Linked DNA regions of Homo sapiens: regions 1 and 3 are each linked to region 2. The links are contacts of gene promoters, found by promoter capture Hi-C in blood cells and fetal thymus (Javierre and others, 2016). All regions are on one chromosome and are shown on one strand. Each heading gives the region's core, a stretch centred on a gene start or on the middle of the fragment in contact. The rest is flanking DNA. Distances are from core to core; before and after follow the strand shown. Region 1 holds the start of LOC124901092 (a long non-coding RNA gene). Region 2 holds the start of RNF14 (ring finger protein 14). Region 3 has its middle 57 kb from the start of ARAP3.

Evidence for each region. Contacts are between HindIII fragments. The CHiCAGO score rates a contact against its expected background, and 5 or more counts as called.
Region 1: a contact is called between a fragment that was not itself captured here and the fragment with the promoter of RNF14 in region 2, in 1 of 17 cell types (endothelial precursors). The highest score is 5.4, in endothelial precursors.
Region 3: a fragment that was not itself captured here is called in contact with the fragment with the promoter of RNF14 in region 2 in 1 of 17 cell types (endothelial precursors); the score reaches 5.6 in endothelial precursors.

What each region holds. Positions count from the first base shown.
Region 1 is chr5:141,720,662-141,724,529 of GRCh38, reverse strand. It overlaps LOC124901092 (a long non-coding RNA gene), which reads left to right and starts at 3,722. Exons shown (of 2, transcript XR_007058973.1): 1 at 3,722-3,868. The HindIII fragment of the contact is 3,076 bases long and covers 128-3,203 here.
Region 2 is chr5:141,967,252-141,971,273 of GRCh38, reverse strand. It overlaps RNF14 (ring finger protein 14), which reads right to left and starts at 2,169. Exons shown (of 9, transcript NM_004290.5): 1 at 2,107-2,169; 2 at 397-570. LOC124901095 (a long non-coding RNA gene) reads left to right here and starts at 1,494. Exons shown (of 3, transcript XR_007058977.1): 1 at 1,494-1,666. RefSeq lists an enhancer at 1,987-2,136 and a silencer at 2,247-2,386. The HindIII fragment of the contact is 2,297 bases long and covers 1,350-3,646 here.
Region 3 is chr5:141,737,235-141,741,631 of GRCh38, reverse strand. No RefSeq gene overlaps it. Among named protein-coding and RNA genes, the nearest start is that of ARAP3, 57 kb to the right of the region's middle. The HindIII fragment of the contact is 4,778 bases long and covers 1-4,397 here.

The DNA of each region.
Region 1 (3,868 bases), core at 416-2,915, 250 kb after region 2:
AGCAGCCTTGGGGGCTGAACCCTGCAAAGCCACAGGGGCAGAGCTGCCCAAGAACTTAGGAGCCCACTTCTAACACCAGTATGCCCTGGATGTAAGATATGGAGTCAAAGGAGATTATTTTGAAGCTTAAAGATTTAATGACTGTCCTGCTGGGTTTCAGACTTGCATGGGGCCTGTAGCCCCTTTCTTTTGGCTGATTTCTTCCTTTTGAAATGGGAGTGTTTACTCAATGCTTGTACTCCCATTGTATCTTGGAAGTAACTAAACTGTTTTTGATTTTACAGGCTCATAGGTAGAAGGGACTTGCCTTGTCTCAGATGAGACTTTGGACTTTGGACTTTTGAGTTAATGGTGGAATGAGTTAAAACTTTGGGGAAGGCATGATTGTATTTAGAAACATGAGAAAGATATGAGATTTGGGAAGGGCCAGGGGTGGAATTATGTGGTTTGGTGATGTGTCCCCACCCAAATTTCATGTTGAATTGCAATCCCCAGTGTTGGAGGTGGGACGTGGTGGGAGGTGATTGGAGCATAGGGGTGGATTTCTCATGAATAGTTTTGCACCATTCCCTTGGTACTCTTCTCATGATAGTGAGTGAGTTCTCATGAGATCTGTTGCTTAAAAGGGTGTGGCACCTCCAACCCCAACTGTTGCTCCTGCTCTGGCCATGTGAAGTGCCTATTCCTCCTTCACCTTCTGCCATGATTGTAAGTTTCCTGAGGCCTTCCCAGAGGCTGAGCAGATGCCAGCATCATGCTTCCTGTAAGGTCTGCAGAACCATGAGCCAATTATACTCTTTTCTTTATAAATTACCCAGTCTCAGGTATTTCTTTATGGCAATGAGATAATGGCCTTATACACCCTATCTCTTAAAAAAAAAGCACACACACAAGAAATGAAAAAGGAGGCCCTAGAGAGCTGCTTTGCCACTTCCACCATGTGAGGACTAGTGACAAGGCACCATTCTATGAACCACAAAGTAAACGCTTACCAGCCACTGAGTCTGTTGGTGCCTTGATCTTGGACTTCCCAGCCTCCAGAATTGCGAGGAATAAGTTTCTGTTGTTTATAAGCCACCCAGCTTATGGCATTTTGTTATAGCCGCCCGAACAGACTAAAACACTAGTCTACTTCCTGAATTACTCCCAGGCCTCAACATGAACCCCACCCACTACAGCAAGTAGACAGAGGGCTCTGAAGACACGTGAATTATGCTGTCTACTCTGTCCACCACGGCTACCAAACAGGTAGCCACAGGTGACCCATCTCCATAGCCACAGCTGATTGGGCCATTATCTGTCACCTGGTAGATAAGTAGTGGCCTGGTGAAAGGAAATAGATGAATTGGGCCAATCTAATGTCTTTCTAGGGAATCTAAGCAGGCAAGCATAAGAAGAATGAGGAGTTGACAGGGTGTGATGGACATGTGTTGTTTTTGCCTGCCTAGCACTCATTTCACATGTTTTTCTGGTGATAGCACCCCAATATTCCTTGGGGTACAGTCCTAGAGTTTAGATGAGCTAGTCTCACCTAAGAGTTTAAGTGAGGTAGTCTCACCCCAGATTCTGCAATAAGACCCTAATTCCCAGGCCTGACCCAGTCAGTAGATTTTATCCTCTCACCACAATGATGGGCTCAGGATGGGGAAGTGAATTAATTAAGATATTGATCAAGCTACTGTAACAAAGAGGCCCAAATAACAGGGCTAAAGCAAGATTAAAATTTAATTCTTTCTCATATAAAAGCTCAAGTAGATATAGTAGTTCTGCTCCACAAAAGTTCTCAGAATCCCAAGCTCCTTCTATTTTGTTGCTCTGCCCCCTCTGGGGGGTGACACTTACCACCACCATGACCACATTTCAGCCAGCCAGAAGGCAATAAAAAGGAAGGGGAAGCACAACAATTTCTTTTAGGGGAACAGCCCAAAAGTTACACACATCATTTTTGCTCATGTATGATTAGCCAGAATTTAGTCCTAAAGCACAACTAATTGCAAGAAAGGCCATCTTGCCAACTAAAATATTCTACCACATTGGAAGAAAAGGGGAACAGCTGTTGTCAGGCAACCAGGAGCCTCTGCCATAGCAACCATCCCATCAACAAGATGGGAAAGTCTGCCCAGAGATGTAGTTAACACAGTGGAAAGAATAGATGAGAGATGGCAAGAATATTATCAAGGCCCAGAGACCTAGCCATGCTGAAGTCCAGCTCTACCTTTGATTTTTCATATATGAGCCAAAAATTTTCTTCTTTTCCCTTTTGCTTCAACTACTTTGAATTGGGTTTCTAGCAATTGACACTAAAGAATTCTGGCTAATTAATGGCAAAATCAGAAGGTAAAATGTCATAAGGGAGAAAGAGGGCAAAAGGACCATAAGGGGAAGCCAGAGTCATGAGGAAACAGGAATCTCAAGATGGAAAAGCAGGCCAGGTGTGGCAGTTCATGCCTGTAATCCCAGCACTTTGGGAGGCCAGGGCAGGCAGATCACTTGAGGCCAGGAGTTCGACACCAGACTGGCCAACATGGCAAAACCCCATCTCTACCAAAAATACAAAAAATTAGCCGGGTGCGGTAGCTCACACCTGTAATCCCAGCTACTTGGGAAACTGAGGCAGGAGAATCACTTGAACATGGAAGGCAGACGTTGCAGTGAGCCGAGATCACGCCATTGCACTCCAGCCTAGGTGACAGAGTAAGTCTCTAGTCTCCAAAAAAAAAAGAAAGAAATTAGTTGGGTGTGATGGCACATTCCTGTAGTCCCAGCTACTCAGGAGGGTGAGGAGGGAGGAGAATTTGAGCACAGGAGGCAGAGATTGCAGTGAGCTAAGATCACACCACTGCACCCCAGCCTGGACAACAGAGTAAGACTTCACCTCAGAAAAAAAAAAAAAAAAAAAAAAAGAGGGACACAAAAGCAAAAGCCACAATACATAGAAAATGGGTGGTGAGAGGAGAAGAGGCAGACACAGAGAGAAGCTAAATTACTTGAGCTACCACCTCTTCCTCCAAAGGTCCTTCCTCTAAGCCACTCCGAGGTTCAAATAACCTAGTTCAGTTACAATGTGTATGGAAAGTTGTGTTATTGGTCAAAATATTTGCTGTTCCTCCCTTGGGTGCCCTTTCTGAAAGTGGAACATACTTCCCATTGATGAGAGGCCTGCCATGCGATTTGCTTTGGCCAATAAAATATGAGGGAAAGCTTTAAGAATCAGTGTGCTCCTCTATTGGCCTGGGCTCCAGAGTGAAGAAAGCAGGGGAGCAGAGCTGCAGCTGACCCATGACAGATATGTAATATAGGGGAGAAATAAACATTTGTCATAGGCCTCAGGGATTTGGGGACTGTTTGTTACTGCAACATAATGTAACCCACACTGACTGATACACAGCCTATATTTACAGCAGTTCCTGCTCATCTTGTAGCCTGATTATTCATCTTTTCCTGGATTTTCAGGCACATATTTCCTTACAGTCTTCCCTCACCTATTCCTTTTTTTTTTTTTTTTTTGAGATGGAGTCTCGCTCTGTCACCCAGGCTGGAGTGCAGTGGCGCAATGTCTGCTCACTGCAAGCTCTGCCGTCTGGGTTCACGCCATTCTCCTGCCTCAGCCTCCCGAGTAGCTGGGACTACAGGCGCCTGCCACCACACCCAGCTAATTTTTTTGTATTTTTAGTAGAGACGGGCTTTCACCGTGTTCTCCAGGATGGTCTCGATCTCCTGACCTTGTGATCCACCCACCTCGGCCTCCCAAAGTGCTGGGATTACAGGCCTGAGCCACTGCGCCCGGCCTTCCCTCACCTATTCTTATAACCAACAAGAAATAAGCCTTAAACAGTCTTCCTGATATGTAATATTATTCTGGAGAGCG
Region 2 (4,022 bases), core at 920-3,419:
CAAGACCTTGTCTCAAAAAATAAAGTATGAATCAATGTTTTTTAAAATAGCATCAACTGAAAGATACAGCAATTTCAGATAATTTAAATGTGAAAAAAATATGCAATGAGAATTTACAAAAATCATTTTAATAAAACAAAACTACCAGTCAATTAAAATATTGAACTACAATTGCATTTGCAAATATCCTCCCTCACAACTAAAATATTTTTAATTAAAATGTACATAAGTAAAAAGTTAGGATTTTTTACATTTTAAAAGGTCATACTATGAAATTAAAAATGATTTCATTTTCAAAAAACACTTTTTTTCTAGGAGATGTTAGTTCATGGCTCTGCTTAAGCTGCATCCCTATCTAAGACACAATTACATGTTCTACTTGAGGTCAGTTAGTACCTGTTAATAACAATCAGAAGAAAAGGATATTAACACCGCAGTCTGTATTTCAGCTCAGAGTGGAGTTCATGCAAATCCCATTTATTCTCTAACTGGTGGAGCTGAGACTGCTGAAGCTGGGTAAGAGGCCAAGATGTGGAACTCATACTACATATATTATGAAAATCCTGCCATCTGCAGAAAAGAAATACAAAAGATGGTGTTAGGACCCTCTCCAAATTAAAATTCTGAATTTCCATGATCACTGCTTAAGTCAAACATATCCTAACATATAGCCAATCCTAATCTACAAGTGCATGTTACTCTCCTAGGGCAGGCTAACTGAGCCATGTGGTTAAAGGAGTATTTGCATGTCCCCAGCAATGACTGAGGACTTTTTATCTGTCTGCCCTCAGCTATGGGAGGAGCTAAGGAGGAACACCAAGGTCATATGAAAGTACAGGACACCATGCCCCATAACAAACAATCTCTTCAGTTTGTTTTTTGTTTTGTTTTTTTCTCCTTTCCTCTTCTGCTTCTTGTATTCCTTCATTTGCCACTCCCCTCCAGTTTTTCCTCTCTTGTTCATGAATTAAGCCTGCCAGTGGCACTCAAGGTTAATTTTGGTAACAGAAAAATACTTAAACAAAACAAGAGTACACAAACACAAACTTTTAAGTTTTATTCTAAATGCTTTAGAGCTAGGCTTCTTCACTGGGGTGAGGGGAAAAGGGAGTGTGGTCTATAGATGGGCTACGGAGAATCCTATCAACACCCTAAAATTATATGCAAAAATACTATATACAAAACCATAATTAAAAACCAGATTCTCGGATGTGTAACTCCCAAATGAGATAAGAATGAGATTCAGAATCAATTTACATTAATTGAGCACCTACTATGTACTGTATTAGGTCCTTTCACATTGTCTTATTTTACTAGGTGGGAGTATATGGTGCTAATTGAATTAAGCTTTTTGTTTCTTCCTGTTAAAACATTTGCAAATGGGATGAGAGATTCATTCATGCAGTTTATGGTTTTAGGTTAGTGTTCTCCATCTGACTGCACATTAGAATCTTCTGAGGAGCTGTTTTTTAAAATCTCAATACCCAGGCCACACCCTAGAACAATTAATTCAGGCCTCAGTAGTTTTCCAAGTTCTCCAGGTGATTCCAATATGCAGCCAGGGCTAAGAACTTCTACTCCAAGCAGTTTCAACAGTTCCTCATGACCTACCCTACAAGATTTCAGCTTGTGAAGCTGTCACTTGGAATCCAGTACCTCAATTCAGGTTGCTAACCCCCATTTCCTTCTCACTCTATCCATTTGGTCTTCGGGTGTCCTAGTCTGGGTTCAGCTCGCCACTAGGCGTGCGGCGTCGTTTGGGCGACTGCCCCAAAACAGGGGCAGGCCCAACGCTAGCTATCCGCCCCAACGCTGGGATCAGAGGGCGCAATGCGGATGTGTGAGCTGCTGGCCAGCCTGGGGCGTCCCGAAGGAGCAGGGCCCACACCTTCCCCTTCCTCCTCAGCGTCCCGAAGGGAGTCCCGGCCAGCCGAGCTGCGGACGCCCGGTCCCGGATTTGAGGGACTGAGGCCCAGTGTACAGTCCCAGCCCGGTCCCCTTCTCTGCCTCGCGCGCCCAGAGAGCTATCCCCACCGTACCTTCCGGCCGCCCGGCAGTGCCGAACCCCAAAGTTCCGCCCTCCGCCCTTGCCTGGGGCCCACTCACCGCCGCCAGCCGACCAGGCCTAGAGACGCCCTGCTCAACCGGCGCGCCGCCTCTTCCGTTCTCGGGAGCTGTCAGCTGAGCCAGGCGGATCCCGCTGGCGCGACCGCCGGCATAGGGAGGACTCTGCGCAGCCGCCGTGGTCGCCCCTGCCTCTCGGGCGCCTCCCGCAGGCCCAAGGCGGCGCTGCCGGCGCGACCACCGTCACCCCCACTTACTGCGAGCCCTGTGCTCACAGGAGGCTCTTTTCAGTAGTTCTGATGGGGCCCGAGAATTCGAATTTTTACCAATCTCTAGAGGGGATCATGAGGCAGTGGTCTACCTAGGGCAGAGACTCTCACAACAATCCCAGACCTGCTTCTCCAAGTGGACTAAGCAAGCCTACTTCCTCCCGTTTACCTTCTCAGAAATGCTGCCGGTCTTTCTGGCACTCCACTGTGGAAGCACGCATTCATCGCTCATGTTATAACTGTAACACCGACCGCATTTATCGAGTAGTTAGGATGCTTCAAGCAGTGTGATAAATGCTCTACGTAAATTTTCTATCTTCACTGTAATCTTATGATTTAGCTACCATTTGTTATTCTCACTTTACAAATAAGGAAATTGAGACTTAGGTGCAAGAACTTACCAAGGGTCACATGATTATCGTCAGGCTAAGCAGGAATTAAAATTATACACTTCCTTCCTCACACCATATGCAAAAATTAACTAAATATGGATCAACGACCTAAATGTAAGAACTAAAACTATAAAACCCTTAGAAGGCCGGGTGCGGTGGCTCACGCCTGTAATCCTAGCACTTTGGGAAGCCGAGGCGGGTGGATCACGAGGTCAGGAGATCGAGACCAGCCTGACCAACATGGTGAAACCCCGTCTCTACTAAAAATACAAAAAATAAGCCGGGCATGGTGGCGGGCACCTGTAGTCCCAGCTACTAGGGAGGCTGAGGCAGGAGAATCATTTGAACCCAGGAGACAGAGGTTACAGTGAGTCACTGCACTCCAGCCTAGGTAACAGCGAGACTCCGTCTCAAAAAAAAAAAAAAAAAAGTCAAACACAAAAAGCCATATATTGTTTTTAATTTATATGAAATGTCCAGAATAGGCAAATCCATAGAGACAAAAAGTAGTTTAGTGGTTGCCAGAAACTAAGGCAGGAGGGAATGGGAAGTGACTGCTAATAGATACCGCTAATAGATATGGTGTTTCTTGGGTGATGAAAATATTGTGGAATTAGAGAGCAGTGATAGTTGTATAACTTTGTGAGTGTACTAGAAACCACTGGATTGTATACTTTTGAAGAGTTAATTTTATTGCATGTGAATTATGTCTTAATTAAAAAATTTTTTTAGGTACAAAGCACCGTTCTCAGCGCTTAAGTGGAATACAGAAATGTTGGCTCCTTCTCCTGGGACCCATCAAACTAATGTGCTCCTCACAATCTAATAAGCTCCTGTGTCCGCTTTTTCATATATTTCTTCCTCCAAAAGAGTAACTTGCAGAGCTAAGACTCTAACCCAAGCCTACAGGATTCTAAAGCTTTTACCACCATTGCCTCCCGGGCAGGATTAGATTCATGGGCCAGCAACCCGTGCAGTCACATAGGGCCCTGCACTTAGAAGGGCCCCAGATTTAGAAGTGGCCTGCTCTTAAGAATGATACAATGGACTTTGGGGACTTAGGGGGAAGGATGAGAGGGGGACGAAGGATAAAAGACTACAAATAGGGTGCAGTGTATACTACTCGAGTGATGAGTGCACCAAAATCTCACAAATCACCATTAAAGAACTTACTCATGTAATCAAATACCACCTGTACCCCAATAACTTATGGAAAAATTAAAATAAAAAAGAAGTGCCCTGCTCTTGATTTGATGCTGTGCTCTCACCCTCTTGAAGTTCTTAATAATTTCTGAAT
Region 3 (4,397 bases), core at 806-3,305, 230 kb after region 2:
CCTGCGGGCCCTGCAGGCCTATAGCACTCAGCCCTGGAGAGATGGAGGTAGACACGAGTCCAGCCACAGTGCACTAGTGAGTGTGCTCCTCTTCACCTGGTGTGTAAACAGTGGGGTGGAGCTGGGGACTCTGGTTCATAGGCAGGGTCCAGAACTGGGGCCAGGGGGCTGGAAGGAGCCCCAGGGCCACCAAAGTTGTCCCTTAGGACCTTGGCATAAATCTCCGAGGGGCAAACAAGATCTACTGGCTGGAGTGAGGTTTGCTGGCTGAACCTGGGGATGATGTCACAAAACTCTCCTGCCTCTAAAGCTGCTATTTTTGCCCTCGAGGACAGGCCGTGTCTAAAGGGAGACTGTGACAGCAGCAAAATCACCTTGCAACTCACCCTCCCACTCCCAGGAAGAGTGGCTTGAGCCTTTACCACTCCATTAGATTGGATTCTCGGCAGGATTCTCGGCAGGTCTTTTGTGGCCGCCAGCTGTGGTGGCCAGATAGGCCACTGACCTTTGAGGAGGGGCCACCCACTGAATGGCTAATTTAAATGCTCTCCTTACAATGGACTGTGCACATTTGGCCCTCAGAGAGTGACTGAGGGAAGTGACTCAGCAAGCCAGAGTCCTGGTTCACAAGCGAACTCAGGAGCATAGATGACATGTGAACTTTCCGAAACCTCTACCCATGGAACAGTCAATCCAAAGGCCTTACCTTGGCGTTCAAGGCCCCTCCATCTGGCCTAACCTAATATCTCCAGGAGACCTTTCATGCCTAGTGTTTGGAAGGCACTCTGTAAATATGTGTGCAATCAATGAATGGGTGGAAATCTCTGTGTAGCTCTGCCCCCCATTTCATGCCTTCCTTTCTCAAGTCTATCATAGCTCCTCTAGGGCTAGGAGCAAGGACTTTGCATATCTTTGGAGCCCTCATAGCTCTTTGCCCAGGGCTCTGCACAAAGTAATATTAAACTAGAGCGAGCACAGTGCCCTGTGGTTTACAAGGTATTTTAATATTAACTGTCTAATTTAATTCTACAATAATGCTGGGGATAGATATTACCCTGTTTTATACTGAGAGGACCCAAGGTTCAGAGAGGTGAAGTCACTTGTCCTCCATTACACAGAAAGTAAACAATAAACCTGGGATGCCAATGCAAATTCTCTGAATCCAGATCCTAAAATCTTTCTACCTCATTCATTTGTTCATTTATTACATAAATAGTGAGCTTCCCCTCCATGCCAAATGTTAAGGTTTCTTCATGGCAATCTGAAACTAGGTGACATTGTATCCTGTCTGTAGATTGGAAAATAGAGGTGAAGTGATTTGCCCAAGATGGCACAGTAAATAAATAGGGGATGGAAGTAGATTGAACCCAGATCTTTTTATTTCTTTTTCTTTTCTTTTATTTTTGAGAAGGAGTCTCGCTCTGTTGCCCAGGCTGGAGTGCAGTGGCGTGATCTCCGCTCACTGCAAGCTCCACCTCCCAGGTTCATGCCATACTCCTGCCTCAGCCTCCCCAGTAGCCGGGACTACAGGCGCCTGCCACCACGCCCGGCTAATTTTTTTGCATTTTTAGTAGAGACAGGGTTTCACCATGTTAGCCAGGATGGTCTCGATTTCCTGACCTCATGATCCGCCCGCCTCGGCCTCCCAAAGTGGTGGGATTACAGGTGTGAGCCACCATGCCCGGCCAAACCCAGATCTTTTATTTCAAATCCAGAGTCTCCTCTTACACCTCACAATTTTTTTTTTTTTTTTGAGACAGAGTTTCGTTCCTGTTGCCCAGGCTGGAGTGCAATGGTGCGATCTCAGCTCACTGCTACCTCCTTCTCCTGGGTTCAAGTGATTCTCCTGCCTCAGCCTCCCAAGTAGCTGGGATTATGGGCATGCACTACCACACCCGGCTAATTTGTATTTTTAGTACAGACAGGGTTTCACTATGTTGGTCAGGCTGGTCTCAAACTCCTGACCTCAGGTGATCCGCCCACCTCAGCCTCCCAAAGTGCTGGGATTACAGGTGTGAGCCACTGCACCCAGCCTCACAAAATGTTTTGTTGTAACATTCATGAAGAACCAATTATATGCCAAGCACTATCCCATTTAATCTTCACAACATCTGACATGGGTTCTATTATCACTTCCTTCTTAGAGATGGAGAAATCAAAACTTTGAACAAAGTCCAGTGCCTGAGCATGGTAGCTCACGCCTGAAATCCCAACAATTTGGGAGACCGAAGAGGGTGGATTGCTTGAGTCCAAGAGTTCAAAACCAGCCTGGGCAACATGGCAAGACCCCATCTCTACAAAAAACAAACAAACAAAAACAAAACAAAACAAAAAACACAAAAAATTAGCTGGGTATGGTGACATGTGCCTGTGGTCCTACCTATTCAGGAGGCTGAGCTGGGAAGATCACCTGAGCTAGAGAAGTCGAGGCTGCAGTGACCTGTGATTGTGCTGCTTACCACTCCACCCTGAGTGACAGAGTGAGACACTGTCTAAAAAAAAAAAAAAAGAAAAAAAAGAAAAGTCCAATATTTAGTAGCCAAGCTGAGAGTTGAACTGTGTTTCTCTGACTCCAGAATCTGAGCTCTATGCTATACCAGCTTACTGATGATAATAATAAACACTCATTACACATCCAAATAATCAATGCTTATTGATTGAATGACTGGTCACTGTAGATATTATGTTCATGGCACAACTAGGGAAAAAAGGTGTAAATTCTGGGCTTGCAAGCCAGCATCTGCCCCTTGGTCTGCATTATGTCTCACAAGCCCTCTGTACCTAATAATAACTGCCCCTACGTCAGCCGGGCTCGGTGGTTCATGCCTGTAATCCCTTGGCACTTTGGGAGGCCGAGGCGGGCAGATCACAAGGTCAAGAGATCGAGACCATCCTGGCCAACATGGTGAAACCCCGTCTCTACTAAAAATACAAAAATTTAGCTGGGCATGGTGGTGCACACTTGTAGTCCCAGCTACTCAGGAGGCTGAGGCAGTAGAATCGCTTGAACTAGGAGGTGGAGGTTGCAGTGAGCCGAGATCATACCACTGCACTCCAGCCTGGTGACACAGTGAGACTCCATCTCAAAACAAAACAAAACAACAACAACAACAAAACCTGCCCCTACTTCTTGAGCAGTCACTGCATGTCAAGTCCTGTGTTAGGCCCCTTACATGCGCTCACATAACCCGATGTAATCCTCATATATGACATAGGTATTATCTTCCCTATTTGAAGGATATAGAAACCAAAGCTCAGAGAGATTCAGTCACTTGTCCCCAGCCACACAGCGTATCAAAGAGATACTATTGTAAAGATGTTACCTCTTTCCTTGATCCTGCAAACCATCTTGGCACAGCTGCTCCAGTCCCAGAACCCCACCATGATTGCCAGTGGGGATTATGAACATCATTTCCCTGGGAGTTTGGGAAGAGAGTAAAATTGTGGCACCAAGGGGCACTGCAGCTGAAAGTGGTCCCCAGTGCTTAGAGTGACACACAGATCCAGGGCTAAACTCTGTTGGGAGACAAGTAGAAACCGGGAGTCAATGAGGAAGTAGCTGGGAGAGTAGCTGACTTCTGGGAATACAGTGCCCATTACTAGCTTTGATCCCCCAACCCCACCCCTCCAGAGCTAACTGCCCAAGCCTCCTCTTGGAGGAGACATCCCTCCTCTTAATGAATGGCTGCAGGGCCATTTGGCCCTGCCACTGCATCCCACATTGATGGATGAATGTGCCTCTGCAAATTAGAGAAATAACTAATGTACTACTCCTAGACCCTGCTGCCTACACGTGAAGCGGGCTCTTGTGGGTTAACTCAAGAACTGGAAGGAATCAGTCCCCTGAATAACAACCCAAAGCAGCAGTGGGGAGAGGCTCCCAGCCTGGTGGGGGTGGATTTACATTTCCTACAGGGTATTCTCAGTGTCACCTCTCATCACCATAATATTTACATCAAATGCAAAAGGCCTCCTCGGAATAGAGCCCTGAGGTTGTAAATGCCAAATCCAAGAATGTCAGTGAATGCAAAAGATCGGGTTCTTTGAGCAGCAGTCTCTCCCTGCCAGGCAATGCCTGCTGCAACCCTGGGGGCAGGCAGGGTGGGCTGCAGAGCCACCGTAAACCTCACCCAAAATAAAGAAAGGCTGGGAACATGTAGGGAGCCCAAAGGCATACATCTCTGGTCCAGGAACACCAGGCAGCCTTGTCCCTTTCACTTGGCTTCACTCGAAGTCTGAAGAAATGTGTTCACACGTGTTCGCTGTGCTGGAAGGGAGGCCAGGCCACCTCATGATCAGAATGACAGCTGGGCAGATGGACTCTCTCCGATGAACCCCAGAGCCTCAGTGGTCAGGCCTCAATGTGGTCTGCAGCCCAGCAGCTGACTGCTCTACCC